6 separate regions of the Homo sapiens genome follow, and regions 2, 3, 4, 5 and 6 are each linked to region 1. The links are contacts of gene promoters, found by promoter capture Hi-C in blood cells and fetal thymus (Javierre and others, 2016). All regions are on one chromosome and are shown on one strand. Each heading gives the region's core, a stretch centred on a gene start or on the middle of the fragment in contact. The rest is flanking DNA. Distances are from core to core; before and after follow the strand shown. Region 1 holds the start of ACYP2 (acylphosphatase 2). Region 2 overlaps RTN4 (reticulon 4). Region 3 overlaps EML6 (EMAP like 6). Region 4 holds the start of LOC105374653 (a long non-coding RNA gene). Region 5 overlaps SPTBN1 (spectrin beta, non-erythrocytic 1). Region 6 overlaps SPTBN1 (spectrin beta, non-erythrocytic 1).

What was found. Contacts are between HindIII fragments. The CHiCAGO score rates a contact against its expected background, and 5 or more counts as called.
Region 2: a contact is called between a fragment that was not itself captured here and the fragment with the promoter of ACYP2 in region 1, in 1 of 17 cell types (fetal thymus). The highest score is 5.2, in fetal thymus.
Region 3: a contact is called between a fragment that was not itself captured here and the fragment with the promoter of ACYP2 in region 1, in 3 of 17 cell types (endothelial precursors, fetal thymus and activated CD4 T cells). The highest score is 6.8, in endothelial precursors.
Region 4: a contact is called between a fragment that was not itself captured here and the fragment with the promoter of ACYP2 in region 1, in 1 of 17 cell types (endothelial precursors). The highest score is 7.9, in endothelial precursors.
Region 5: a contact is called between a fragment that was not itself captured here and the fragment with the promoter of ACYP2 in region 1, in 6 of 17 cell types (megakaryocytes, endothelial precursors, total B cells and 3 more). The highest score is 7.3, in megakaryocytes.
Region 6: a contact is called between a fragment that was not itself captured here and the fragment with the promoter of ACYP2 in region 1, in 2 of 17 cell types (naive B cells and total B cells). The highest score is 7.8, in naive B cells.

The regions. Positions count from the first base shown.
Region 1 is chr2:54,113,553-54,118,546 of GRCh38, forward strand. It overlaps ACYP2 (acylphosphatase 2), which reads left to right and starts at 2,063. Exons shown (of 4, transcript NM_138448.4): 1 at 2,063-2,204. The coding sequence starts at 2,147. RefSeq lists silencers at 1,892-1,961, 2,452-2,511. The HindIII fragment of the contact is 9,756 bases long and covers 1-4,994 here.
Region 2 is chr2:55,008,120-55,013,113 of GRCh38, forward strand. All of the region lies in intron 3 of RTN4 (reticulon 4), which reads right to left. Among named protein-coding and RNA genes, the nearest start is that of RTN4, 40 kb to the right of the region's middle. RefSeq lists a silencer at 2,960-3,019. The HindIII fragment of the contact is 634 bases long and covers 1,899-2,532 here.
Region 3 is chr2:54,726,843-54,731,836 of GRCh38, forward strand. The region is part of intron 2 of EML6 (EMAP like 6); the gene reads left to right. Among named protein-coding and RNA genes, the nearest start is that of EML6, 5.7 kb to the left of the region's middle. The HindIII fragment of the contact is 846 bases long and covers 1,964-2,809 here.
Region 4 is chr2:54,673,788-54,678,781 of GRCh38, forward strand. The region is part of intron 1 of SPTBN1-AS2 (SPTBN1 antisense RNA 2); the gene reads right to left. It overlaps LOC105374653 (a long non-coding RNA gene), which reads left to right and starts at 595. Exons shown (of 3, transcript XR_940104.2): 1 at 595-848. RefSeq lists an enhancer at 1-19. The HindIII fragment of the contact is 786 bases long and covers 2,325-3,110 here.
Region 5 is chr2:54,654,526-54,659,519 of GRCh38, forward strand. SPTBN1 (spectrin beta, non-erythrocytic 1) reads left to right here. Exons shown (of 36, transcript NM_003128.3): 28 at 545-683; 29 at 1,389-1,473; 30 at 3,325-3,521; 31 at 4,629-4,741. Among named protein-coding and RNA genes, the nearest start is that of SPTBN1-AS2, 23 kb to the right of the region's middle. The HindIII fragment of the contact is 2,191 bases long and covers 1,639-3,829 here.
Region 6 is chr2:54,634,859-54,639,852 of GRCh38, forward strand. SPTBN1 (spectrin beta, non-erythrocytic 1) reads left to right here. Exons shown (of 36, transcript NM_003128.3): 18 at 2,855-2,945. Among named protein-coding and RNA genes, the nearest start is that of SPTBN1-AS2, 43 kb to the right of the region's middle. RefSeq lists enhancers at 1-98, 339-398. The HindIII fragment of the contact is 5,814 bases long and covers 1-4,157 here.

The sequences.
Region 1 (4,994 bases), core at 813-3,312:
TAAAAAAAAAAATTCTGTTTGAGGTTGGTTGAATCTATGGATGCAGAACCTGCTAATATGGATGGCTGACTGTACTAGTGGGGAAGGCACACTAAATAACTAGGATAAAATCTGGTAACCACTCGCAGAGATGACTGAGCGGGATAGAGGAAGATTTTGGAGAAGGGGGAGGCATTCCAGATAGAGTAGACCCAAGAGAAGAGGTTCTTTGTTTTAAACCTCTGTACTGAGAGAGCAGAATAACCGAGAGTGTCTTGACTATAGTTTAAATGCAGGATTTGCATAAGCAGGTAGTGGAGGCTGAAGACCTTAGGTTCTATTTTGAACGTATTAAGAAGAATGATTTAAAATTTATGTTGATTCTAGAGTCTGCATGGAATGAACTGGGAGATGGAAGAGTTAAGTTACGAGGTCTCTGCAATAAACTAAGACCTTCACTACATAAATTAACTGCACTAGCATTTCCAGAATATATTTTACTTTAAAAATGATTTAACCATATTCTAACCAAGTTTTGGATGATTTTTGGTGTTCTCTAATAGAATTGGCACAGTATATTGAATCAGATTGCAGTGGATTATTTTAACTGTGTGGCCAGATGCAGAGAAATATGCCAAGGTATTGAGGCCAACAAATAGAGAAATGCAAATTCTCACAAGTAAACAGATTTGGAATTCTAGAAGGTGGCAGATTATCAATAGCTGTATCCAGATCCTTTGGAGTGGTGGATGGTTTTATATTAAAACTTGGTAATAGCTCACCAGGAAATAAAATTCAGCCTTAACCTTCTAGGCAATTGGGATGTTGCTGAGAATAATCAAGACAATCAAAAAAAAAAAAAAAAAAAAAGGTCGGGTGTGGTGGCTCACACCTGTAATCCCAGCACTTTGGGAGGCCGAGGCAGGTGGATCACCTGAGGTCAGGAGTTTGAGACTAGCCTGGACAACATGGTGAAACCCCGTCTCCACTAAAAATACAAAAATTAGCTGGGTGAGGTGGCGCATGCCTGTAATCCCAGCTACTTGGAAGGCTGAGGCAGGACAATTTCTTGAACCTGGGAGGTGGAGGCTGCTGTGAGCTGAGATTGCACTACTGCACTCCAGTCTGGGAGACAAGAGCGAAACTCCGTCTCAAAACAACAGCAACAAACCCACACCAAAAAAACTGTATGAACAGCAGACAAGATGACTACAGTGTTTTTCTTTTGTCTGTTTCCACTAGCATAAAAGACTTCATATTTTTAAAAAGTTTCTTATCCCAGAAAATATCACAATCCGTTTAGAATACGAGTTCAGGCTCAATTCCTTCCTGACTGTACAGAAGAGCTCAAGATGTTGCAGACCTTATCTTAAAAGCTGGCTTGGTAGTCACCTAAACATTTCATAAATAATTTACTAACTCTCAAAACACTAAACACGCAGGCCCTTGATTTCAAAAGCCAATCTTGCTGGGATGGAGTGGGGTGGGGGACCTGGGATGGGGGATGAAAGGGGTTGGAAATGGGGAGATATTGGTCAAAGGGTACAAAGTTTCAGTTAGTGTGAATAATAAGTTCTGAAGATCTGTTGTCTAACATGGTGACTGCGATAAATGTATTGTGTCCTTAAAAATTGATGAGAGTAGATCTTAAATGTTCTCTTCATTAAAAAATGGTGCAATGGATACGTTAATTTCATTGATGTAATCATTTCACAATGCATACATATGTCAAAACATCACCTTGTACACCACAAATATACCCAACTTTTATTTGTCAATTACACTTTAATAAAGCTGGGGGAAGCCACTCTTTTTTTGGGCACAGCATCCGGCTTTTATTTACTAACTTTGAGAACAGAGTACCTTGATCAATTAAATGGTAGGGAGCGCTGTGGAGACAGCATCCTCCCCAGTCCGGGAAGAGAGGCCTAGGATGCCTGGGGCCCAGCGGCCTCTTCCCTCCTGGCGTCCCCGGCTGCCCTCGCTCCCAGGCCCCGCAGTCTCATTTGCCGCTTCCGACGCGTGACCCCGGCGCGCTAGCGTCCGGGACCGGTGACAGGCGCGGGGTGCGCCAAGCAGTCCCATGTGTCCCCTCCCTCTCGCAGCCGCCGCAGTCGCTGCGCCCCGAGCCCCTCTCCGGCTCCTCAACAGAGGGCTCGCCGCCGCCATGTCTACCGCCCAGTCACTCAAATCCGTGGACTACGAGGTGTTCGGAAGAGTGCAGGGTAGGAGGCCCCTCTACGGTGGGAGATCAAAAAGGTTATGGGAGGAAGGGGAGAAAGCTGTGAGAAGCGCCTCCCACCTAAAGTATGCCTTTTCCCGTTGTGGCTGGGACTTCCGCTCCGCCATGACACAGCAGCGGCGGCGGGGAGGGAGGCGAAACGCGCATGCGCCCGAGGACTTGGACGGGCGGAAGTACGGGAATGGGGAGGGAAGTGGGGGAGCGGGAGAGGAGGGGTCAGGGGACTGCTGAGGACCAGAAGTGGGCGGCTGCTGGGTGCGGGAGTAAGCGGCACGGGGGAATGTTGAAGTTGGGTAGGAAAAGAAGAGGGTCTTTTAACTAGTGGTCTCGTTGCTTGCCACTGAAGCTACCTGGGCTTGACTTGAGTTTTAGGAAGGACACTTAGATGGTTTAAGGTTAATTTTTCAGAGGTCAAACCTTTTTTTAGACCTCTTTGTAGCTCTTAAAAGAATGAAATTGTTATCTAATTTTTGTTTCATCCTAAGTTTAAGTAGTTGCCAAGTTTGTAATGTCTGGCTTGTTGAAAATATTGATATTTATAAATGAAAATATTAAGTCACTCTGAGATTTATGCAATGGAATATAAATAGGGTAGTGATTTAACATCCACCATCTTCATTTAAAATAAAACTCTTCAACAATGGGAAATTTTACTCATTTCTTTTCCTCTTTGAATTTGATTTTCATTTCACTTTTCCCACCGAATTACCCCATTGTTTTGCTTGAGGGTTTTTTTTTTTTTTTTGCTCACCCTATCATACTTTTCTGCAATATGTATATGTACATATATGCACATGTATGAATAAGTGTAATGCTTTTTCTTAATTTCCTTTGACAATAAGGCTCTCTTAGAAACAAATGCTGGTTCTTTGGTGCCAAAAAGAAGAACTAGCGCTCAAAGAATTTTCTCAGCAAGGCAATTTTACCTCTATAGAAGGGTGCGACTCGCGGATGAAGCAATGGCAACGGCACACCTGAACAGGGGAGGGGAAGGGGTTCTTATTCCTGATGCAGGTAGCCTCTACTGCTGTGTCTTTCCCCTACTGGCTAGGGTTGGACCGCACAGTCTAAGCTAATTCCGACTGGCTATTTTAAAGAGCAGGCGTACGAGCTCAAGTGGCGGGGTGAATAATTTGGCAGGAAGGGTGGTTACAGAACAGGTGACTCAGGATGATTCAGGTCAGAGCAGGTGACCAGGGGTGACTCAGGATGGAGCAGGTGACCAGAGGAATAGAGGTGAACTACTGATTAGAACTGGTGGAAAAGGTTGTTTACTGAAACTAGAGGCGAGGAGAACGAGGAAGCTAGACTTTAGAGCGCAAAGAACCGAGCATACTGACATACTGATTCTTTGAAGAGAAATTTAGAACTCATTGTATTCAACAGCTCCAAGTATTAAATTTTTTGTCTGGATGGAGTTATTATTGAAATTATTATTAGAACACTAGATGAAAATATAAAAAGTATGATAAACATTATTAAAATTTAAAGGTAAATTTGTGTTAGAAGTTTATTTTTTTAATTTTATTTTTTTAAGAGATGGAGTCTTGCTCTGTCACCCAGACTGGAGCAAGTGCAATGGCACAATCATAGCTCACTGCAGCCTGGAACTCCTGGGCTCAAGTGATCTTCTGCCTCAGCCTTCTAAGCAGCTGGGACTACAGGCTCATGCCACCATGCATGACTAATTTTTAAAATTTTTTTGTAGAGAAAGGGTCTCTGTTGCCCAGGCAAGTCTCGAAATCCTGGCTTCAAGGGATCCTCCTGCACTTCGCCTCCCAAAGTGATGGGATTACAGGCGTGAGCCACTGCACTCAGCCAGAAATTTATTAATGAGAAGACTGGGGGTGTTTATGGAACCTCGGTTGGTGGAAGAGTTGAATTATCCTTGTATTTGGTACTCTAGAGGTTTTTACACTTTGGTGCAGTGTACCAGGGTAAGATTAAGAATGGGTAAAAGTGTGCCTTTTGTAAAGAGATCTTTTTTTAATTTAATTTTATTTTTATTTCCTATAGGTCTTTGGAGAACAGGTGGTGTTTGATTACATGAATAAGTTCATTACTGGTGATTTCTGAGATTTTGGTGCATCCATCACCCAAGCAGTTTACACTGTACCCAATGTGTAGCCTTTTGTCCCTCACCCCGTCCTACCCTTTCCCCCCTGACTCCCCAGAATCCATTGTATCATTCTTTTATGCCTTTGCATCCTTATAGCTTAGCTCCCACTTAGAAGTGAGAACATAGAATGTTTAGTTTTCCATTCATGAGTTACTTCACTTAGGATAACAGGAGACCTTTCTTTCAAAGGATGATTGTGCAAAGGGAGGTAGGAAAGGAGTCTCAGGTCAGTTTTAGGAAGGAATATATGTGGAAGTTGAAGATCTGGAAATTGATTCCCTGAACATTATGCATGGATCTGTACTCTTTAGAAAGTCTTTGAGTGAACCCAGCGGTATGTTATCCTGCTTTGAAAACTGCCACAATAAGTCACCAAAACACGTAATGTAAAATACGAAAGTGGTGGCAAAGATCACCTGACAGAATGGTCCACTAGAGACAAATGGCAGTAGTGAAGGAGTCTGTGTGTGTGTGTGAATGTGTGACATTTATTATGGGTGTTCTTTGTGCTGAGCATTTCACTGTTGTTTACTTAATCATCACAATTTTGTGAGATGCATGTCTTATTCCTGTTTTAACAAGGACAAAACAGGTGCACAGAGATTCAGTAACTTGGACAAGCCCTTAGTTGACAAATGGGATTTGATTCTACAT
Region 2 (4,994 bases), core at 966-3,465, 890 kb after region 1:
AATACCAGTTAATCGGCAAGCAAACACACACACACACACACACACACACACACACACCACCTTTTAAAGAACACTGAAATCAGAGCATCTCTCAAATCTGTCACTATGCTATACTGGTGGTCAGGGGGAGAATGCAGTAGAAAAATGCCTAAGTATATTTTTTAAATTTACCTAGACCCTAGATTAGGCTCCTTCTCTGCTGTCAAACTATTTTTTTTTTAGATGAGGAAAAACTCATTCCATGACAGCTTCCAACTTCTCAGTGATTTCCAACTTAAACCTTACTCTGTAATCTTAAATATTACTCTGTAATAATAAAATTGTCTGCTGATAGAGAAAATACTAAAATATAATTTAACCACTGACTCAGAAAAACAGGCAAAGTTAATCTTACCGACCAAAACAGCCAGACAGGTACTAAAAAATATTAGGCCATTCCACTTACAAAGTGAGGCTCCCCAGAGATATTCAGGAGTAAATTCAATTTTACATTTGAGTACCTAAAAATAATCAAACAAATCTCTGGAAAAAATATGAACTACATTGGAACTTAATTTCTCCTGTCTCATAATACCTTTAAATTACTTCAACAAATAAAGAACTTAAGATGTTATTTAATGATTTAAGACTTAAGTTATTAATAAAGAACCTTAATAGTTGCAGAATGAGCCCTGATACGACTTTTCACCTACTTTTAAGGCCTGTATTTATTGTATTATTATCATTTGTATCATTTTCACTTAGCAAAAGCTACCATATATCAATTCATCAATCTGTAACGTCAACGGCTAACAGGATGAAGAAATAAAAATCCTTCTCTTTAAATTCACATGTAAAGAAATCCTAAAGGCAAAACCCAAAGCTGTATTGTTTTCTATTATTTTTTAAGTTGCAACCATAAAATCTTACCAATGTCTCAATATGGTCTCAATCTTAAATTCACCTTTTCCCCACATCTTTATTGAACAAATTTTTAAAAAGACATTGTAAAAGTTACTGTAATTAGCTCTACATACTTTTAGAAATATTGTTGCCAATCCTGCTAGAAGGAAATAATTTTTTTTAATTATAAAACTTGAATGTAGCCAGGAAAAAAATTGCTTACGTAGAATGTCTATTTTGGACTACTTAAAAATAGCTCTAATAATTTAAAGGTAATTTATTATAAGTGGTCAGATATACAGCCTACCACTTTCTTTTAAAGAAAAAAAGGTAGATTTAACCATCTACATAATAAAATATTCTTTAAATATTCTAGTCAACATTTTACCATTTACAGGCTTAAATTCTTACACAATGATCCACTGAGATTTGAAAGGATCTGGGCTTTCAAGGGGGAGGAAAAGGGATCAAAATCACTGATTGGTTATTACAAGGACAAAGGTTAGTGACTTAAATATAGACATGCATTTAAAATTACTGCGTAATTATACTGTGTAATTTGAATGATTTCAAGATGCACATAATCTGATTAAAAGAAAGTTGGTAATAATTTTAAAGGTTCAAATCAGATTTTCAAAGAAGAGGCTTACTGCAAACACAATATCTTGCTACCTACAAACCTTTGCACAGAATTTCAACTACACCAAGTAAGGTTTTTTAAAATAGTCACGGAAAATATGTCACTGTGAAACACAAAAACAGCAATGTGTATTTACCACATCCAAGTGACGAACAAATGAAATCTGTTAGATCTATATTGTTTACAATGTGCAAGATTAGAGAACAGAACCTAAACGGCAGGACTGAAAAGACTAAACCGAATGCCAGTGAAACAGAACAGCATGACATTTTCTGGTATACAACCAAATGTAAAAACACGTGAGATAGCCGTTTTAATCCTTTAGACTTCAACTCTTCAGAGGTTTCACTTTCAATCCAAAATATCTAAATTCCAAAGCTTATTCATAGAAATATATTAGTGGTCACATATAAAAACTGAATAAGAAATTAAAAAGCAGATATACCCTTGTCCTTCCAATTTTTCTTCTGACCGTCCATCTCTTGTCACGATCTGCTTTGCAGCTCCAATTATTAATTATGCATACCAACAGAAAAGCTGTAACTGCACAAACCTACTCCCTGAGACATGAAATACCCGTTTCCTCAACCGAAGTCTGCAGTCTCCTCTGCTGCACAACTGCAGCAGGACTGAAGTCACCTGACGTCTTCTGGGTGTGGAACAGTCTGACGCAGTGCAATCTGTAACTAGGCTACTAATACTCCAGCATTAATGCTTTCCTTCTATCTGTTGATTGTTTTAGGCATTTGCCTTGTTGCTCATACCAAATGGAGCTGCATTTGCAGGGAGAGGGCAGGCTACCAAAAGAAAGGAAATAAGGGTTGTTCTTAGAACTAACCACTGAATGTATCTGAAATGCAATTAAAGCCATATGCAGTTTTTTTTTCTTTCTTTTTTTAACAGATGGTCGAATTATGCTACTGGTTTTCAGTTTCATTTAAAACTCTAAAATTAATGGTTACCTAATAAGATAAAAATGGACTGATCAAATATTAATAGCCTAAATTTCAAGCTTGTGAAATGATGAGTCTCCTTAATTGCTCCTAAGTTCATTAAGACGTAAAACATTCAGCATTTTGCACCTTATGAAGAGATAAACAGAAAATAAAAGTCAAATTACTAATGTTTATTGAACATATTATTTGAACAGAAAACTTTAGCAACTTAATCTTCCTAATATCTTTTTTCCTCTTTTACAATTATGGAAATCCAGAGACTTACAAACATACACTTACTCTTAATCATCATCTGCTCCAACTCAATCTTTGAATATTTATTAGACACCTCTACAGACAGTATTAATAGATTCTTAGCTTGGGGAGATATATTCATGGGCTAATGATATAATCTGCCATGGGAAAATGACATAAAAGCAAACTATAATTTTATTTTATTTTTTATTTTTTTCTGACACAGGGTCTCGCTCTGTCACCAAGGCTGGAGTGCAGTGGTGCAATCATTGGTCACATGGCAACCTCAACCTCCCAGGCTCAAGAGATCCTCCCATCTCAGTCACCACAGGCATGTGCCACCATGCCCAGTTAATTTTTTATTTTTACACTTTTTTTAGAGATGAGGTCTCCCTGTGTTGTCCAAGCTGGTCACAAACTCCTGGGCTCAAGCAATTCTCCCACCTCAGCCTCCTAAAGTGCGGGGATTACAGGTATGAGCCACCACACCTGGCCTAAAATTTTACTGAAAAATATAAAAACAAATCTATGTACAGCATTTTTAAAATCTGTGTTCAACTTTATAAAACTGATTTTCATTCCAATGCAGTGTCTCTACTTATGTTCCACAATCAATTCACCTGATACTTATATCTGCCTAAGCAGAAAAGGCACTAACAAATCAGCTAAAATATTTTAAAATGCAATTTGCGAAAATACTATAAGATACGTAGCCTATGTACAAAAATACATACTTAAGACTGTATAGCTAAAATGAAATAGAGATAATATTTTCTGGAACCTGCTATCTGTGGGCTGCAAAATCCTTAATATCAGAAGTGGCTTGATATTAATATATACTCCTATTATGTACCCAAAAAAACTAAAAACAAAACATGTAAGACTTAAACATAGAAAGAACTAAAATTAGGAAAATGAGAGGGGAAAAAGGAAGTGGCTTGAATATCAATGACACATTTATTTCCCTATCTGCCTCTCTAACTCCAAACATAAATAAAGAAAAGTAATTTTTAAAAGAGCCCAGTATTCTCAGCTCGAGTTAATATTTAACTTTAAACTTTATTCACTGAACCCCTGCATAATGTGATATTTGAGAACCCGGTCAGCAAGCCATATCATGGCCTGAAAATGTCTGGCCTCTCCACGCAACATTCAGAATCTCAAACTATTTAGTAAATACAAAATACTGACTTTCTAATAACAAGTCCCTTAAAACTGAAAGCCAATAAATAACGAGCATTAGAATAAAACACTCAACTATAGTACTCAAACACTATTTTCAAGTCAGAGATTACTTCACTAGTAGAAGAAAAAAGTTTTACTGTGATCAAGTTACTCGGCACTTAAGACTACTTGTATCTTCCGTGGTACTTGATTTGGCTTAACAATTAAAGAAAAAAGTCTGAGAGGGGCAAGAATGTGTAATAAGACATACCCACTCATCTAAACATTAAACATACTTAATAGCACCCCTGACAGATTAAAAAGTCAAAATAGGAGCCCTGAAGTTTAGTAAACATTTCAGCCTACATAGTGACATCTACTTCTTTAATTTTTATGGTCTTTGTAAGTGTACAAGGAAAACTAGCTTGTGGAAATCAACTGACATTTTGCCCAGTTCTTTCTCACAAAGTTTTTCAACTAGACTTGTTTTAAGTTTGGCAAGTTAAGCAAAAAAGTGCTTAAATCTGAAAAACTGATATGACACAAATTTGTTAAAGATGTAAAGCCAGATGGGCTATGTTTATTATGAAAATCATATAATCTCTACTAAAAATAGAAGGCTTTAGGACATTGCCTGACAAAAAGTAGGCACTATGTAAGTGCTATTTACTTATCAGTATGCTAAAAATAACAATCAAACTAAGAAGCAACAAGACAAGTAAGGCACATCTAAGAAAGCTCATATATTAAGTCCTTCAACTCTAGGCAATAACCCAATCTTTCTAAACAGAATTGCCCCCTCTCATACACAAACTATTGTCGTTGCTGTATAGTTCTATTATTTTCCAGCTGAGAAAAATGTACATCTGCATAGTTTATAGGTCCTATTCCACAATGAACCCCAACTTAACAAGTCAAATAAAGAAAGGACATAAATCTGTTAAAAACTTATCTTCATTTATTTTGTTTTCCTTCAACTACCTAACTTTTAAAAAAATTAATTCTTTTGAGGACAATTTTCAAGTAGAGCACATGTCTCAACTTGCAGAATGGCATTTTGACTATTTGAGACAGGAACCTCTTTTCCCATAAAAGCAAAGGCTCACAAAGGAGAGGCC
Region 3 (4,994 bases), core at 1,137-3,636, 610 kb after region 1:
ATAAGATGTAGTCCTTTGGGTGAAGGGAGAGAGTGGCAATTAAACAGAAAATTCTCTGTGGTTAAATAATATTAATGTGACAGTTCACTGAACTACTTTGTGGATTTGAACTCCTAATCCTAATTTTTTCTCTGATACAAGGAAAAAAACCAAATGCACTGTTGAAGCTGAAGGTGGGAAAAGGGTGGAGTTGCAGTAAACCGTTGTTATGACAAGCAGCCGGGCTAGTGGGATGTGATGAAATCTAGCTTGGGTGGTTAAGGAAACATTCAGATTTGAAGAAAAGGTGAATGAAGTGATGTGTATAACTGGGTTTGCAGGGAGCCTTAACTGATGAAGGGAAAAAGAGACAGTTAGCATCTGATCTATTCATTAAGCTACTTTAGTGACATAGTAGTAAGCCTGATTTCAGAGGAAGGACTGTATTCATAATTCTCCACAATATTTGGTTGGGTCAGAGTATGTATAGGTGAGCAGAGCAGAGCAGAGTTCCTTAACATCCAAATATGTCTTTGTACACAAGAATAAAATTAAGTTCAATGAATTAAGAAACACAAACCACAGATTATTATGGAATTAAGAGCTATGAAATTGGAATGTTTATGCTGTTCTTTTGCTTTGTCTTACATATGTAAATATCTTTTTCTGGTGAAGACACTGCACAAACCACAATGCACAATTTTTTGTCCTTATGAATTTTAATTCGTTTCTGTGTATCCCGGTTACTACTATTCTTCCACCTGAAATATTGAAGTTTGTTATTAAATGGAGAGGACTATAGCTAAGGTTCTAATGCAAAAGTGTTTTGGTTTTTTATTGAATCATTACATGAATATCAAAACTTGTTCGTTTCTAATTCTTGTTTCCATCAGGTGAGATAGCATAAGTAATTGTCCACTTGGTACATAGCTTTTGCATTAGTTTGAAAGATATATTCATATGCATACATCTATACTGCTTTATTTTTTGTGCTGTTTTGCCAAGAATATTAACTAGAAAGCAGCCCAACAAGTATTGATAACACACTCCATTTTATAAAACCATGTGATCTCCAAGATCATAATGAACCCTAATAATAATGTAGGTTTTGGCAGAGCTCATTAGGGCTCAGCATATGTGTCCTTCTGCTTTGACAGGCTATATGTCTAAGTCAGATTTTTAAAGATGTTGCTATGTGAGGCATAATATAATTTACTGAATGTGGAGGCTTAGTTTTATTCTCTTGAATATTACTTTTTAATTCAGATAACAGATTAGAAGATGATGCCATATTTTAGACCTGATAACATTGTGATAGAACAAGTGAATACTTAAAGTAATATTTGCTATTGGGCTAACAACAAGATGCAAATCAGGGCTTGATACCAAGGACAGTAATAGAGACTGGGATAATTACTAACTTGGTTTCTACTTTAGGTAGTAGAACATGACACAGAGAATGGGAGTAAATGAAAGAAAAGCCTGTGAACACATTCATCCTCTGTTACTTCCCTTCCATTTTCACAGTGATTCCAGTTGAGACATTTATCTCCTCACTCTGGACCACTATATGTATTGCTTCTGGCTAGTTCCCTGTCTCCAGGTTCTTCTGCCTCGTTTTCCGGCTCCCATTTGCAAAGGAGGTTTATGTACAATGCTGCTTTAGGGGAAAGGGCACTGACTTCGTTATCATGCACACTTGGGTATAAATCCCACTCTGCCATTTACCGGGGGTATCTGGGTGAGTGGCATCACTTTTCAGGGCCTTGTTTATTTGTGAAATGGGAATGACAATACCTAAACTGCAGAGTTGTAACTATTAGAAAAAAATGTATGCAAAGGGTTTAGTGTGGGGCCTGGCCCTTAGTTGGTGCTCAATAAATATTCTTAGTTGTGGTAGAAGTAGTATTTCACTAAACACACACACACCCCCAGAACAAAACAATGATTCATCATTGCTCACAGGCAGAAGTCCAGATTCCTAAGCTTTCTGTTCTCTCTCCTAACCTACCATCCTATCCTTATTTTCCTTTTTTAAAAAATCATAAATTCTTTGCTTCCCACTTGCCATATGATGACTCTGTTCTTCCCTGCCTCACAGTGGAATGATTCATCTTCCCCGCTGGCCCTTCTCTGTCTGTCCAGCCGCACCCCTCCAATGGCATAGCAGTGGGAGCTTGGACTTTGCTGTCAGTCATACTTGAGTTTGAACCTAGGACTGCCACCAGCTGGCGACTTTAATAAACCTCTTCGAATCTTAACTATCTCATCAGTGAAACAACTTTTCACTTATAAAATGGAGTTTTAAAGTATCTCCTTTGTAGTTTGTTGTGGGGATTACATACAAAAATGTTTGGCCAGTGGTAAGTGTGCAGCACCAGGGTCCTGTTTGCATCTGCATCCTGCAAAGCCCTATCTGCTGCAGTCTCACCTCTCCCATGAGACCTTGTACCATCCTCAGATGAAGGGGCACCTTGCACTTCCAAAACTTTGTGTGTTTTGTGACCGATGCTGCTCACTTAATATGTATCATTTAGGGCTATCGTTTCATTCTGTTTTCATTTGTAAGCGTATATAAGACTCTTGAGGCTGAGAGTGAATTTTATAACCAGAGCTAACATTTCCTGAGTGCCAAACTCAGAACTAAATGTGTATATCGATTGATCTGATCCACCCTCTCACAGTCCAGTGAGATAGGCACTGTTGCTAACCCCAGGCTACAGGGGAGGCAGCTGAGGCACAGAGAGGTTGAGGATCTTGCCTGTTGTCACTGTCTGGCAGACTGTGGAATGGGAATTGGAACCCAGATTGGTCTGATTCCAAAGCTGCAAGCTTTGGCTTCACTGCTTTATGGCCTCTTATATTGTGGTCCCTACAACTGTGCCTTCTTCCTAACCAGAAGGTAGTAGATTGTTGCTCTTTGTAACTTGCTTATCCTCTGTTGGTCTATAAACCGTTTGATTTATTCAAGAATATTTGAAGTAGATCATTAGAATTCTGCCTGGAAATGGGACCATGTTTAAGTTTGCTTTAGAAACATCCCCAGCTCGGCCAGGCTAATCCCAGCAATTTGGGAGGCTGAGGTGGGCAGATCACTTGAGCTTGGGGGTTCAGGACTAGCCTGGGTGGCATGGCAAAACCCCATCTCTACAGAAAATACAAGGGCTGGCTGGGCATGGTGGCAGGTGCCTGTGGTCCCTGATATTCCGGGACCTAGGGCCAGAGAATCTCTTTGGCCCAGGAGGCAGAGGTTGCAGTAAGCCCAGTTTGTGCTGTTGCACTCCAGCCTGGGCGACAAGAGTGAGGCCCTGTCTCAAGAAAAAAAAAAGAAAAGAAAAAATTTAAAAAAGAGAAATATCCACAGCTTTGGAACAATGACCTGAAACAATGATCTATTAGAGATTTTAATTAAAAAAAATTATTTTAGTCAAAATTGTGACATGGCTCAAATAATCTAGTGCTGCAAATACAATTGAACTTGTTGGATTTGAAGAGACAGGTCTAACAGCCATGATTGGGCCTGGAGTGTCAGGTAAGCAAGTTCACATGAAGGCCTAGAGATGTGACTTTATATTCTTTAGTCCCTTGACCAGTTTGAATAAGAGAAATATGGAGGTAACTACAAAGAATCAAATCCATATTAAGTTGAGTGCTTGCTCTGTACCAGACACTTCATGTATATGTCATCCTATTGAATTCTCCCACCCTCAACACTGAGAAATAGGTCTTCTCATTTTACACTGAGAAATGGCTCTGCGAGGGGAAGAGATTTAATCAGAGTTACTCAATGGTACCATCCTACTGCTCATTGGATCCCACTTACTCTGTGCATTGGAAAGAGCGCAAAGTGAAAGCTTTTGACGGAAGCTTATAATGATCTTCATAAATGATTGCATTATTGCTCTTCTTATTAATAAATTATAGTCTTGTGATTTTTATTAAGATTTGTTTATTCTCTAAGTTGGGTGTAATTTATTCTTTCATATTTGTTAATTCATCAAAAACTCATTTTACATCTATAATGTGCCAGATGCAGGGGGTATAGCAGTGAACATGACAAAGTTTCTGCCGCCTCGAAGCTTACTTTCTGATGGGGGACGCCAACAGTGAATGGACAAGAAAATAAGATGACTATAGATTGTGATAAGTGCTAAGAAGAAAAATAATCACAGAGAAACTGGGTTGAATGGGGGTATGGAAGCCACCTTAGGCAAGATTTCCAGAGCAGCTCTCTAGGGAGATGGCATTTAAGCAGAAACCTGAAGGGTGTGAAGGGGAAGACAGGTGAAGATGTAGTGGCAGAGAAGAGGTTATGTGCAAAAGTGCCAGGGTGGGAAGAAACTTAATGTGCCTAAAATTCTGGTACAGATAGCCAGAGAAAGACCAAGGTCATTGTAATTCTCATCCAGGTCATTAATGCCTCATGGGTTTTGGTACCATATGCCCTAGATTTCCCAGGACAGTCACAAATATTCCATTCAGTTATTGTTGTGGATACTTGTTCTTGTGACATCATGAATCTAATTTTTAATTCAGAAATATGAGTCCAGGCTCACTCCTGTCATCCCAGCACTTTGGGAGGCTGAGGTGGGAGGATCGTTTGAGCCTGGGAGTTAAGGACCAGCCTGGGCAGCATAGGGAGACCCCATTGCTACAAAAAATTAAAAAATTTAGCCAGGCATGGTGGCGTGTGCCTATGGTCTCAGCTACTTGGGAGCCTGGAAGGTCAAGACTGCAATGTGCTGTGATCACACCATTGCACTCCAGCCTGGGTGACAGGGCAAGACCCTGTCAAAAAAAATATATATATATATGACTGTGTTTTGTTTTGGAAAATGTGGTTGCCACATAATGGGTCACTGCTTGAAAACATTGCGCTGAACTATACTATCTTATAAAGAATTGTATCAGTCCCACCAACCCCATCAATCAGTCATTTGGATGACACTGTGATAGGTGAAAAACTGTTCACATGGCAGCAGCCCTAATTAGGCAACACTATCCTGCAGCCTCTC
Region 4 (4,994 bases), core at 1,468-3,967, 560 kb after region 1:
GGGAGGCAGGACGTTAGTGGTGTTTCCTGAAACTGGTTCTTTAAAGGGAAGGGGAATTTCCCTTACATAAGCCCGCAGCGACTTTCTCCACAGGGTGGGGCATCCTGTGTTCTGGAGTCTGGGCGCTGGGCGGGAACCTGGGAGCTTTCTCCAGTGGAGCTGAGGCCAAGTCTTGGCTCACAACATTTCTCCCGGGGAATCTGCTCCATCTTCGGTCATCATTTACGTTTCTCCGTCACAGTGAATTATTTCCAGTGTTCCTGTTCCTCAAGTTTTGTTTTTTTTCGGAGGAAACAGTCGCTCAAGGTTTTAATCTTCCATCTTAGGGGAATGTCCACAGCCCTAATTAAAATGGCCGTGGCCGGGCTTGGTGGCTCACGCCTGTAATCCCAACACTTTGGGAGGCCGATGCGGGCGGATCACAAGGTCAGCAGTCTGAGACCAGCCTGGCCAATATGGCGAAACCCCATCTCTACTAAAAATACAACAAAATTAGCTGGGCGTGGTGGCGGGCACCTGTACTCCCAGCTTCTCCGGAGGCTGAGGCAGGAGAATTGCTTGATCTTGGGAGGCGGAGGTTGCAGTGAGCCGAGATCACACCACTGCACTCCAGCCTGGGCGACAGAGTGAGACTCCATCTCAAAAATAATAATAATAATGGCTGTAAGGAGCGTGCGTTTCTGAGCCAGTGCTCGCAGGCGTGCATACGGGGCCTTCTCCTAGCTGCCATCTGTTACACGGGTCTGTCATCTCCCCACTTGGATTTGAGGACTCTTGTCTTTCCTGGGGACACATGATTGGATTACTTCATCCAGCTTGCTCAGCCTCTGCTCTTCTGAGGAAAGAAGGTAGGCTCTGAAGCCAGATTGAATGGTGGCTCCTTCACCTCCCAGCCCCGTGACAAGTAAAAAAAGACTCCCTTATCCCCTCTGCAAAGCACCCACCACGCACCAGCCATGCTGGGAAGCAGCCCTTGTGGCGCTTACAAATGTGAGACTCCTCTTCGTCTGCTTCATCTGAGCCTTGGCCTCTAGAGGAGATTAAATGAACTGATGAACGCCACACTCCATAAATCGGTTCCTTTTCTCCCATGGTAGTCTGTCAGGCAGGAGCCTCTTTTATTTTAAAGCATATTTGCTCCTGTGTTCAAGGCTGCCCCTGACTGCAGGTGTTGATAACCCCCCACCCCACCCCCGCAACACCACCTCCGTGTTTTCCCTCCGAGGTGCTTCAGTTGGGGCATACCTGGCTTCAGAGAGCAAATGTAGGTTAACAAGCAGGAAGGACCTCTAGGGGTCTAGTTCCCCTTGCTACCACCTCCCGAGCTCCCTTCTCCACCAGGCATTGGGGGGTTACTTCAGACACTGGCACAGCTCATCAGCAACAGGAGCTGATATGGGAATGCAGTAAATTTACAAATTAACCAAAAGTCAGCCTAAGAAAGTATTTTCTTTTGAAATAAGGCCCTCCAAAAGGCGCTACTTCTGTTTCTTTGAGGAGTCAGAACATCATTTGGCTGGGAAACAATCTGTGTGGTGCACACTGTCCCTGCTGCCTGGCCCCGTGGCGGGGTTGCAGCTCCCTCATCGCTCAGCACCCTATTATTTACAAAGTCTCCAGCTCTGACAGGGGGTAAAATTACCCAGAGAACTGATGACCCAAAAGCCAAGGGTGTCCCATGTGCCTGAGAGCTTCGCTGTAGATAGGAGGGTGACTGGGCTGGGGACACTGAGCCCGGGTCCCGGGGAAGCCATTTACTCGGGCATGAGGGTTTAAAGGAAGAGGGTGCCACTGGTGTTTGGAAAAGGTGAGAAGGCAGAATGTCTGGCTTTCCTCAGGTGGGGAAAAAATTTCAATTCCATAGGAGAAAAGTTTGCGAAGATGAACCCATCCTTATGTTCTCTTTTCACCTGTGACACACGATTTCCATCATTTCTCTATCACAGTTGCCTCAGGAAGCGGGGAAGGAGGGGGAGCAGCGCTGTAGCTGGAACATAACCTGATGGCCCCCTCGTGTCTCAGATCATCGGGCACCAGTACTAGTGGCGGCTGTCCTTGTAGCACTTGGCGCAGAACGAAGAGGAATACCATTTCTGCTCTGGCTCTGACACAGCCAGCATTTGGCCAGGCGCCTACTGTATGCGTCAGTCAGGTGCTGCCCTTAGCACTTTCCCCATGTTAACTCGTTCCAACCTTCACAATGACCCTGTGAGGTAGAGACTTATTAGTGAGGTGTTGTTAGACCCACAACCTGAACTGTCAGCCCAGAGAAAAGAAGACTGAGCTAAGCCAGAGCTGGTAGAACCAAGACCACAGTGCTCTGAAGCTTTAACACGGTCTGGCTGACCCCAGGACTGACCTTCCCCCTGCCTCATCTCCATTCAGCTGCCTTGATATCTTGAGCTGAGAAGGAGGTGTGTGTTCAGGATCTCAGTGGCATCCTGCGCTGTGTAACAAGTGGATGTGTGAGTGTGAACACACTGCATAGGAAAAGGGAGAGAAGCCAGGAGCTCACGCTGGATCTGAACCTGTCAGGACAACTGATTGAAAAAAATCAGTCAGTGATTTAGGTATGGGACTCTGAACCACTGGTTTTGTTTCCACCATTTGTTTTCCTCCAAATGGAATGATTTCATCTTGCTAATATTAATAGGTAACCAACTATAAGGTTGTCCAGGCAGTGTGCTAAGTTTTCAAGTTGCGTTCTCATCAAATCCTTGCAGCAATTCTACCAGGCAATGTCTTCATTGTACAAAGAAGAAAACAGAGGCTTAAAGAGTTAAGTACTTGTACAAATCGCAGCTGGATATTTGAATTCTGACACATCTCTCCAGAGGCCACACTCTCAGACTACACTAACTGTCCCCCACCTAGATTCTTTTCCTGCACTTCTCTGTGGGCTGAGGAATGATGGTCATGGAACCAGTGCCAGCTGAGAGGGCATCTCATGTGTGTAAGCTGTTGCCCCAGTCGTGGGCTTTCAGAGAAAGGACTGGATACCCAGTGTCATGTCCACTCAACAGCCATGCAAGGCTGGGTTCTTGAAGCCACAGCTCTTCACTGACTCCTTGAGCATCCATGTGACTCTAGAGTTTAGCTATGCAAGTGCAAGCTTTGCTCTCAAATACATGTGCAATGTAATTAGAGGATAGCTGATGCCTGATTCACTGGCCTTACAAATCTGTAGCTGCCTGGATTTCAACTGTCAATACATGCTGAAGTCCTTTTCGGATCAAATTTAAGTTCAGATAAAGAGTGTGTGGTGGGGACACAATAAATATTTGGAAGGAAGAAAAGATGGAAGGAAAGAAGTAAGGAAGGAGGAAAGGTAGGGCAGAAGGACCCTCCAAACAGCTGGGTACTCTGTAGCCTCAGAAGGTTGGCAAGATAAATCACAGCTCAGCATAAAGCCTATGTCGGTGTCTGGTGTTTAAAAAGTGGGGAGGAGAGGCTCAGCCCACAGCCTCTGTGGACAGGTTTTCTTTCATCTGCTTTCTAGCCAAAGGATGTGAAGACAAGCTACAGGAACTGATGGGCTGCAGCTGAGATAGGTCAGATTTTCACTCTAGCCCCCTGAACTGGCCACAGGGCCCCTTCGTTCCCTGACTTCCATCATTGCTCTTTCCTGTGATGTCTGACCTCCCCTGTGTCACTGCATCTGACTCTTGCTGCCTCCTCAGCACCTGCGGCCCCATCTCCTCCAAGTTCTGAACTGCACAGGCATCTTCTGAGGTACAGCCATGTTTGGGTGCCCAGCCGGCTCTTCCTGCAGGTCTTCCTGCTCTCCTGATGTCCCTCAGCTCACAACCTCTCTTTTCTAGCAGAGCATAGAAAGACAGGAGCTGACTTCTGGATGCCTGGTCATCATTTCCTTCTTTAGTTCCATTTTACAAGCCCAGGTGCTGTATGAAAAACAGGGCATGCTAACCCTGTCTTCCATCCACTAGGGCGGAGCTGACGGTTAAAACAAGGCTCTTTCCCATGCCAGCAATTAGACCTCCATTTCTCAGAAGAGGAAAGAGGGGAAGCGTGAACAGACAGAAGGGCTCATTTTCTGTTTGTCAAAGGAATAAATGGATTAAGGATCCTTGCATTTCAAGATGCATTTCAAGATTTCAGAGATGGAGTCTTGATAAGACAGTGAGAACTGACTGAGAGGGAGCTGCACCCAATCACGGGGCCACGCACCCAGGGACAGTTGCACCTATATGGATTGTTTCCCAGCCAAATGATGTTCTGACCATTAACTCAGGCATCTGGGATTCCCCAAAGAAACAGATGAGTAGCATCACTTGGGGGACTTTATTTTTAAAAATAAAAATTCAGTTCCTTAAATAGGCATTTGGTGACCTCATGTTTTTTTAGTGAAACATGTTGGTAAGAGATGCAATATTTTGAACAGGAAAGACAGTATGATAAAAGCATTCTTGGGCCAGGTGTGGTAGCTCACACCTGTAATCCCAACAGTTTGGGAGGCCAAGGCGGACAGACCACTTGAGGTCAGCAGTTCAAGACCAGCCTGGCCAAAATGGCACAACACCATCTCTACTTAAAAAAAAAATTAGCTAGGCCTGGTGGTGCACGCCTGTAATACCAGCTACTTGGGTGGCTGAGGCACGAGAATCACTTGAACTTGGGAGGTGGAGGTTGCAGTGAGCTGAGATCATGCCCATGTACTCCTGCCTGGGCAACAGAGAGAGACTCTGTCTCAAAAAAAAAAAAAGCATTCTTCCTTTTTTTTTTAACTCTAACAACCCACTGGCCCACATGCCTCAAATCCTACATAGTTAAACATCACAAGTACCTATTCTGCATACAATTTTTACTTACATATGCATCATAAACATTTTGCTGTGTTTCTACAAGACTTTGTGATGCTTATTTCAAGGACTATTGGTAGTTTTCCACAAGTTGATGCAGCATCAGGCATTAAAATGCTCCCCAGATGCTGAGCATTTAGCAATAACACCATTCTCCACCAAAGAGGCTTGTGT
Region 5 (4,994 bases), core at 1,484-3,983, 540 kb after region 1:
AGTTGTATTTCCTGGATCAGGATCAGTAGGTTTTGATCCATGCTGGTCACTGCTGTCTAGGCTAGTTCCCATCCTGTGTATCTTTTTGTGTCTGAATAAGGAGACCGTATTAGCTGCTCTTTGATATGGCCATCCTGAATCTTTGACAGCTAACTCATCAAGGTGCGATTGCGGCACCTCTTGCTGCTTCTCTACTTTCTAGAAGAGAGTCTTTCTGACTTGCATTTCAAAGTAAAAGTTTGAACAGAAAACCATTGCTTTTTCTGGCACCCACCTAGCAACCATTTTGAATTATTCAGGCACACACACAAAAACAAAAGCAGCCATATTCTACAGTTTGGTTACCTGGCTGGTACTGAACTGTGCTGTCACTGTGCTTTGGCTCCAGTGGCCCAGCCTAAGCTCAGGGAGTGATTCAGACCTGAAAGACCATCAGTTTCTTTCAAGGCCATCAGTTTCTTTCAAATTAATTGTGTGTTTTAAAACCTACACATTTTTTGAAAAGCTTGATCTCCTAACGGAGGCATCGTTTGTCTAATTTTAGGGATGTATCATCTGTTGAACTCTTAATGAATAATCATCAAGGCATCAAAGCTGAAATTGATGCACGTAATGACAGTTTCACAACCTGCATTGAACTTGGGAAATCCCTGTTGGCGAGAAAACACTATGCATCTGAGGAGGTAGGTTGCTACTTTGCTTTGGAGCTGCAGCTGGCGTCAAGATGTAAAATGACTTTGTTTTATATGTTTGTGTGTGTCAGAGATACTGTGTTTACATTCTTATACACACACACATATGTTTTAAAACTCCTTTCCTGTGCGTCTAGAATAATGCAATTATGCAAGACTCTAGGCCCAGGCTGGTAAATCTCTGGCACAGAAGACAATTTTTGAGGGCTACAAAATGGACTCCGCATCCTCCCCAATCAGTACTCTTTCTAGGTGACGCCAATGTCCATTGACTATGCCCTAGATCAGTTTGCTGTTGAGTGCATGGTTGGTGATTCTGGTTAGGATGGTGGTAATAAAGAGGTAAATTATTAGGTGCGTGTGTGGCCCCCTGCATGGGAATGGGCATCCTCTCCAAGAGGTCAGGGCTTTGTCCGTCTTGCTGTCCCTCTCCTGAACGTGTTTGCCGCAGGGAGCCTCCTCACGACAAAACAGCTTTGGCAGGGCTTCCGCGCCTTCCTCCAGCCCCTTCTGGAAGGAGCAGTGCTATGCTTTTCTTTCCTCTCCCAGTCCTCAGACAGACTGAGCAGTCCTTAGATATCTCCCAGCTTAATGGTGGTCTTTGCAGAAAATGTATTTTTCTAGTATAAAATGACCCCATCAAGAGGATGTGGTGCATTCCATTAAGATGTCCCGGGGATCCTCTTTTTCATACAGATCAAGGAAAAATTACTGCAGTTGACGGAAAAGAGGAAAGAAATGATCGACAAGTGGGAAGACCGATGGGAATGGTTAAGACTGAGTAAGGATGTAGTTTATCTTTCTGCTCTTTTGGGTATCAATGGAAAACATGCACGTTTATTTTCTTGCTTTAATTCATTAATGTTATCATTTAAAGATTGTTCGAGTTGTAGATGCCTTTTTAGTGCCCCGTTTCACCATTTCATGGTAAATACTACTTTTAAGAAGCTTCCTATGGCGTAGTCATTTTTCACCTCTTGATTGATCTCAGTGTCATAGGTGGGATTTGGATGTTCTTTAGGGATGACAGAGGGCACCTCCCTGGGAGAATACAGATAGAAGCCCTCTCCCCCATTTGTCTTCAAGAATTCTTACTACAGAATCAAGTTGGAAAGTTGATCTCATTAAGTCATATTTGGTGCTCTTAGTGGAATGTTGATAACATAATAAAAACTAACATCTATTAAAATTTTGCTGTGAATGAGGCATTGTTCTAAGTGGTTTTTTAATGTATTTCTGTGTTTATTCCCCAAAGTGACCCTGTGAATTAGATTCTATTTTTAATTCTCATTTTATAAGGGAATATGTGAGCTAATACAGGGTTTATAATGTACAGTATTAGGAATAGCATTTCATAATTGGTATGAGCACTAACAGCGCAATTCTAGCATTGCTTACCATGCTTTGCCATTCTCTGTTGGAGTTCTGGGCTCTGTCCTTATGTTCTAACTCCATCTATGCATGTTATGGGGGTTTACTAGAAACCAAATGCAAGGGCCTTTTCTGAGAGGTTTGACGGCACACTCTGTTGGGCCCAGAGCCCTCAGAAATCCCACTTTTTGACCATTCTTTGCAGGAGGATTTGGTCTGTATGTTTTGAGAATTGTGGGGCAGTTTCATTCAGCTCAGCAAAACCCACATTACACACTGAACCGGGCACCAGCTTGTACACCAGGGACACAGTGATATGCACAGTCCCTGCCTTGAAAAGCCAGTAAGTCCCTAGTGCAGAGGTGGCATCTTCTTCATGTAGTCATGTTGGGGGCTACCGAGGTGCTGAAAGCAGATAGCTAGCCAGCTCCTTGGGACACCAACGCTGCCCACAGTCCATTTTTTACCTCAATGATCCCAGGCTTTGCTGCATGAAATGAAGTGAAAATCAGTGTTAACTATAGCAGAAAGCCTGGTTCTAACCTACCTTCTCATAACTATGTTGGAACTAGTGTTCCATTTCCTCACAGGTGGAAGAACAGAATGAAACAGAGCAAAAGCCTTGGTCCCCACCATCTGTAGTGTTCCCATATCCTTCCCTCCCTCTAAACCCCCCAAAATAAAACACACAACTACCGCCCAAAAGAGGGCGAGTTAAGAATGCCTGCCCATCTGGCTACGTGTAGATTGTGAATTCCTGCAGGTCTCTGAAGGCTTAGCTCATGAAGTGGGGCCGAGTGAACAGAGCGTTCACTGTAGACCTGCGCTGAGCAGTATGATAGCTGCTTTCCCACGTGTGGCTCTTGAGAACTTGAAATGTCTCAAATTGAGATGGGCAGTGAATGTGTGCCGTAAAATGCACATCAGATTTAGATTTAGAAGAAAAAAGATTGTAACAGATCTCAATAGTTTTTTTCATATTGATTACATGTTGTAATAATTTTATACATATTATGTGAAATACACTATTAAAGTTAATTTCACCTATTTATTTTTACTCTTTTTAATGTGGCTACTGGAAAAGTCAAAGTTGCAAGTGTGGCTCACATTACATTTACATTGGACAGGGCTAATTTAGAGTAGACGATAGACTGGTTATGCAGGTAGCCATCACCAGAGGGCAGCAGTGCCAAGAGGTAAGGCCATATGACTGCCCGGCACCTCCTGGTCAACGTGTACTAACTCATGGTACCCTGTGCAGTTCTGGAGGTCCATCAGTTCTCAAGAGACGCCAGTGTGGCCGAGGCCTGGCTGCTTGGACAGGAGCCGTACCTATCCAGCCGAGAGATAGGCCAGAGCGTGGACGAGGTGGAGAAGCTCATCAAGCGCCACGAGGCATTTGAAAAGTCTGCAGCAACCTGGGATGAGAGGTTCTCTGCCCTGGAAAGGCTGACTACAGTAAGTGGCCGCTGGGCCCTTTGTCTGTTGGTGCCCTGGGCAGCCTTTTCTTCCTGCTTGCCTCTTAGACCAGGGAATTCACACGATTGCTTGTTTTTGTTTTTTGGGTTTTTTTCAAGTAGTGAAGATCATCTTAAAATGGGTGGCTCCTGTGGAGCAGGACCTAGGGAGAGGGTCAGGACTGTTACCTCCTCAGTCACATCCTGGGCACCTGGATTTATGATCCCTTATAGTAGCTTCCTGCCTGGGGGTTGATTGGTGGTGTTTGCTTTTTTCTTCGAATCTTTCATTCTCCCCTATCTCATAAAAGCTTTGTTCTCAAGGGGGCATGGCCTCAAAATTTTCTTCAGAATTTCAGAATTAGAATTCCCATCAAATGGAAGCTTAATCCTAGCCTGTTGTTAAGTCCCCAGTCCTGATCCCCTCTTCTGTCAACATAAAGGCCTTAGAATAGGATTTGTGCACTGGTGTTTCCTCTCCCAAGACTTTTGCATTCCTGGTAGAAAGCTGATCCTTTGCAGTGTACAAAAATGGTGTTTCTGGTTTCCAGTTCTGGGTGTTTAAAATGTACCTGCATACATTTGTGTTAAAACAGAGTACTTCTGGTACATCCATATGACTCATGAAATGGCTTTGTTTCAGTTAGACTATTCTGTGGCTTTTTAATGTGTTGTTTGGGTTTTGGCTGAACACAGATCCCCACCACAGCACAAGCGGCTTCCTTGAGAATTATTGCAGCTCTGTCCCTGGTGTTTGTCTGAGCTCTCCTGGGGAGTCCAGCATGAACCCTCAGGCTCAGGTACTTTTCTCCTCAGCAGAGTTGAGAGTTGCATAGTTACTTTAGAAATTAAACCCAAGCTCCCAGGGGTCCTACAAACAACTCACAGGAATTTTGCCAGCCCATGGAATAGACTATTTCCTGTAGTTTTAGGTTGTAGCTGCAGTTCCTGTGAACCTAATTCCATTTGGCTCAGGATGTTAGAGCTTCTTGTCCAGTGTGGTCCAGTTTAGCAAACTAGACAGGAGGACTTCCTGGGTTCCTAGAACCTTTTTCTGAAAAGAGGCAGAGTTTGGGACTCTACCAAACATCACTCTATTTTCTCTTAGTTGGAGTTACTGGAAGTGCGCAGACAGCAAGAGGAAGAGGAGAGGAAGAGGCGGCCGCCTTCTCCCGAGCCGAGCACGAAGGTTTCAGAGGAAGCCGAGTCCCAGCAGCAGTGGTGAGTCCCAGCAGCTCCAGAGGCTGGACCCTTAGCCTCGGTGGCCAATGAGGTTTATGGGGCATCTTTCTGAAGCCTTGCATTGCTAGGCCTAACCACATGCCCTGCCTACTGATTGCTTCCATAGACTGTTTAAAGGCTGTACAGTTATCCCTAAATAACCTTGGAGGGCACTGATTTGTCCACAGTCACATAGGTATGTAGGTGGCAGAAGTAGAATGTAGACAGTGCCCTTTCTCATCCTGTGTGCACA
Region 6 (4,994 bases), core at 1-2,500, 520 kb after region 1:
CCTGTGAGTGGGAAGAGACTGTCCTCAGCCTGCCCCAGGGGATGTGAACAGGGAGGGAGGGAGCTCCTGACCAAGAGGGAAATTCCAGCCACAGCACAGTTCATGGGGAGCAAGGAACAGTATCCAGCTTCATAAAGCAAGACCCTGTCTCACACCGGAAAACAGGCTCAGAAGTTACCCAGCTGTTTCACTCAGGCACCTGGGGTTCTTGACTATTCACAGAAACCAGAACACCCGCATCTGCTTCATGTGATGAGGGAGCTTTTTTGAGTCTTATTACAGGGAGAGAAAGTGAGAGATGGAAAAGCACTCTTTAAGACTGTGGAAACTACTCCCTAGTTTTAAAAGGTCCTTCTCAGGCCCTTCCCTGTAATTGAATCCGTGATCCAACATGGAGAGAATTTCCTGAGTTTCACTTCCCACGAATGATGTCCGTTGCACTAGTAAACCATTAAGCCACACTCACTTCTTTTAAGCGTCTTCTGAGTCAGCGGCAGTCCCAGATGCCTGTGTGGCTGTGTTTCACACCACACGAAGGCCGTTGTCACACCTGCGCATAGATCGGTGTCATTTGGACATGTGACTCTAAATCCTTGCCTCTTTCTTCCCATCTTGATGGTCCCACTATAGGAGAAAGGCTGCCTGGGCCGGTAACTGCCGGGCATGCATGAGAGTTGATTATATAAGAAATACATTCAGGATTCTGTATGGTCATATTTCTCCCTTAATGAATCTTTCCAGTGTTTGAAGTTACTTTCATTTCTGTTATTTCCGTGAGAGGCGAGGATGTGTGTCCTGTTGTTAATTTCCAGTATCTGGGATTCTTCCCTGCCACTGTAGGACTTCAATGAGATGCCATGCCAAAGGGAATGGAATCCTTTATCCCTTTGACTACTGGCAGGACTCCTGCATTTGTCACTAAACTCCAACTCATATTATCTCCTTTCTAAAGATTTGCGTTCTTGAACTCCCCTAGAAATAGAACTGGAATTTGAGGGAAGGGAATTTCCTTTTGACATTCCTAACCCATCCACATTCTTAGATGACTAATTCTTTTTAGCCCAAATTCACTAACAATCTTTTATTTTTTTAAATTTAATTTTGGTTTCTGATGATAGATGGCAATGGCATAAAATGTCTCTGGCCTTTATTATTTTTTGTTGTTGTAAAAGCAGTAAATGTCTGACATTTTCAAGGGGAAAACTACTGCCCTTAATCCCATCTGTAGCATATGCCATTTAAGTGTTTGCTTTCTAACCCATGCCTTGGAGTTTTATATCATTTAATATGTATAAACTATTTTCATTTAGCATTATAGTATAATTATTTTTCTACGTTTGCATTTTGCCTATGTGGTATAAGCATATTAAGATCCCTTTTCCTGATGCTATGGAACTCCTTTCAACTTAAAAAAATTAAAAAGGCATTATTTGTGTCTAACATATGCCTAATGATATTTTTATTTACAATAATTGTATGTAATACTGTAATTTACATAATATAAATTATATATGATGTTATAACATGTAAATATGTATAATTTCTACTGTTCTGTAGCCACTGGTACCTGCAGGAGCTATAGGGGCAGAGGGCTTTTCCCTTTGATTCTCCAGGCAGACAATGGCTATGACACTGCATTGTCAGCAGCCACTGAGGGCCCGTGTGGTGCATGCATCTCTACTCTAAGATCTTTCTTTCTCCTGGGGAAGTTTCTTCAGACACCGGTCAGCAGCACGTGTTCACCAAGCTGCTCTTACTCAGCGTGTTGGAGAATCCAAGGCTATGTGTTCTTCCTCATCCCTGCCTCAGGGTTTGGTGGATAGAGGAGAGACCTTGTGCAGGCACAGGCAGAGAGAAATTGCTCTAAGAATCGAATGAAAACCCAGCTCTCCTCAGTTGCACTCTGCCTTTATCCATCTTAATACCCTGAATATAGACTGGCTTTCTTGTTTAGGCAACTCAGGAGTATCAAGGAAGTGTATGTGTGGCAGTGCTTTTGAATCCTCAGTGGGTCCTCCCCTATTGGAAATGAAGCTCTCCGCTATTGTAGTGGAGCCACTGGAAGGCAATCCTTTGCTAGGCATTCACGCTGCTATTTCTCAGTTTCCAGTCTCTAAGCCACTGGGTGCATGAAGGAAGTTTGCCAAAGAGTGCTGGCACCTTCACAGCAGATGGGGAAGGAGCCAAGTAGGGAGCGAGCACCCCCTTTACCTTAGCGTTTACCAAATTCAGCAGCTCTTTCCAGTTCTTACAAGTTATTTATTTAAGGTTTTGTGTTTTAACTTCTTTGAGCTTTAGTTACCCTTATCAATTGATTAAAAGTGGGATTGAGTTAGTATATAGTCTTACAGGTCTAAAAATTTTCATTCCTTTTTGTTGTATTTTTGGTGAGTTTTTTTCAAGATGAGAAACTCTTTATCAGGAAACATTTGTTTAAAGCCAGTTACATGATTATATATATTTTCTTAGCCTTGTATGTGTCACCCAGTTATGAGCTTCTTGAAAATAAGTTTCCACTTCTCCCCCGGTGCCTAAAATAAGGACTTGTACAAAGCGTGTGCTCATATTTTTTTCTTAACACCAGATTAGGAAGCAACAAATTTGTATAGATCATTTGACAGTATGTTCGGCCTGTTGTGTGGTTTGGGCAGATTTTTGGGTCTCTCTGGGACCATGGCTTACTCCTTTGGAGGATGCTAAAATCTCTTTATCTTGTCTCCTTCACATTATTGAGAACTGCAAGCAAACTCTTTTTAGCATAGTTAGGAATTCAGGAAATAAATTGATTTGTATTCTGTATTTCAAGATTCTCTACTTCCTTTTTTAAAAATTATTTTTGTTACCATTCTAATAGACATAGGAAGAATCGTGAGACAGCCAGTGAACTTTTGATGAGGTTGAAGGACAACAGGGATCTACAGAAATTCCTGCAAGATTGTCAAGAGGTATGTTACTCTTTAATCCCTCTATTCCTGTGTTCCAGTAATAGCAATTGCCAGCCAGCATTTAGCACAAGAGCCTTTTGAATTATAAAATTAATGAAACCAGAAATCCATAGCACCCATTTGACTCGCAGGCAGGGATACGTGGCACTTCATCAGTTCTCCAGCCTACAAGGTACAGCTTAATTAGATCATTATAATCTAGACTATTATATTAATAGTATAGTACTGCACTGTTCATTACAGTAGACACCAGCCACAATGTCTTTATGGTTGGTTGGCTATTTCATTTTAAATTAACTATAATTACATAAAACTAAGAGCGTGGTTCTTCCATCACTAGCTGTATTTTAAGTGCTCAGTAGCCAACTTTGACTAGTGGCTACCATGTTGGACAACACAGATATAGAACATTTCTGTCGTCAAAGGAAGTTGTATTGGATATTGATGTCCTAGAATATTGTGCAACCTAGAAGTATTTAGTGTCATGCTTTCACTCTTTAAAGCAATGTACATTTCAATGATATGGAAGGAAAGAACTAAAGGGAACTGAAACTGGCTACCAAGTAAGAAGCAGAGATTTTCAAAAGACAAATTAGTTTCTTATTCGCTTAAGACCTTCATCTATCCATCTTTCAGGCTGTTCCCATGTGTATCTAACATGCAAAGAGCAGTAATGCTGATTCCAAGCACCAAGTTTTAATGTGGCATTAATCTGATGATCATTGTACTATTTCATGCTCTTCTGATACATGCACAAACTTTGAAAACTAAAGTTGGCCAGAAAAAAGTAGTTTCTCTGCACGCTAGTTGGAGAATAGTATCTAGCTGATTTCACGTGTGAGTTCGTGAGCACACCATATTTCTCTGTCTGCCGGAGAATAACAGACTCAGCCCTCTCTGGTTTATTAAAATAAAAATCCTCAGGCAAAAATGGGGTGAGGAATATCCACAAAAAGCTGCAGGAACCTTGATGGGGCTAAGAGTATGGGGGTAGAATCAGGTCATACGCTGGGAATACAACTTCAATCATCACAGACACCCTGCATGCAAATGTGTGACTGTGCATTAAAAGAAATACGGCTCCAGTGACAGCTGCGTTAGATCACGTATGACAGAAGCAATCCTTTGCATCCGTTAAACTGCTGTCTTACTGTAAATCTTGTAATATGCTCTTGCAGCAAAACCTTAAGAAGGAAAGCCCCTAAACTATGAAGCTTAGGGTCTGTCAACTTTAAGCACCACATTGATGAATCTAGGTCTCTGGGGGATTTGCCCGGAGCCAGACAGGCTGAAGACAGGAGTGCCTCTTCTAAGTGACACGCAAGCATTAGTAACCCATTTGAGTAGGATACTCACTTACAGAGGCATTCATGTGCCAAGACAGGGCATAGAAGAGAGTAATGGGATCTAAAGTTAGCTATGTGGAGTTGCCTAGTGTGCTGCGGTAATACCAGTTGCCATTTTTCACTGGAGGGAGTAAAAGGGATGAAGAGGTGTTTGTAGCTTGGGCTGGGCCTTCCACAGATTGGTAGTCCCTGTTTCACCTTGAGAAACCATCTGTGACTCCCTGTAACCTCAGCCCATATTCCTGGGGGTAGGGGGTTCAATGGGATCCCACACTCCTGCTTTTAAAGGGCAAGTTAGTAAGATGAAATTCATTTACCTAACCATGGTAAAGCTCAGTTTAAATCTAAGAAAAAGAAGACCAGGGAGTGAGCAATGAGTGGCCAGGGGAACCCTTGAGAGAAACCTATTTGTATTTGAAATTTCCAGTCTCTTATTTTCCACTGACATATGTCGATTTCGTTAAGTAGACATGTATGGGAAAAGTAAGTAGATAAAGTTACGGTTCTTCCCGATAGAATCACAGGAAATGGTCAGTCTTAATAGGTCTTTAGATCTTTGTTTCCACTTGCTCTAAATGAGCATCCCTGGTTATGAGGAGTTCTCTCCTCCACACACACCTTGGCTGAGTTCCAGTGATTATGAGGCATGCCCAGGGGCTCTGTCTTCTGTGACTTCTCCTCAAAGGACACAGGAAAGTTTGGG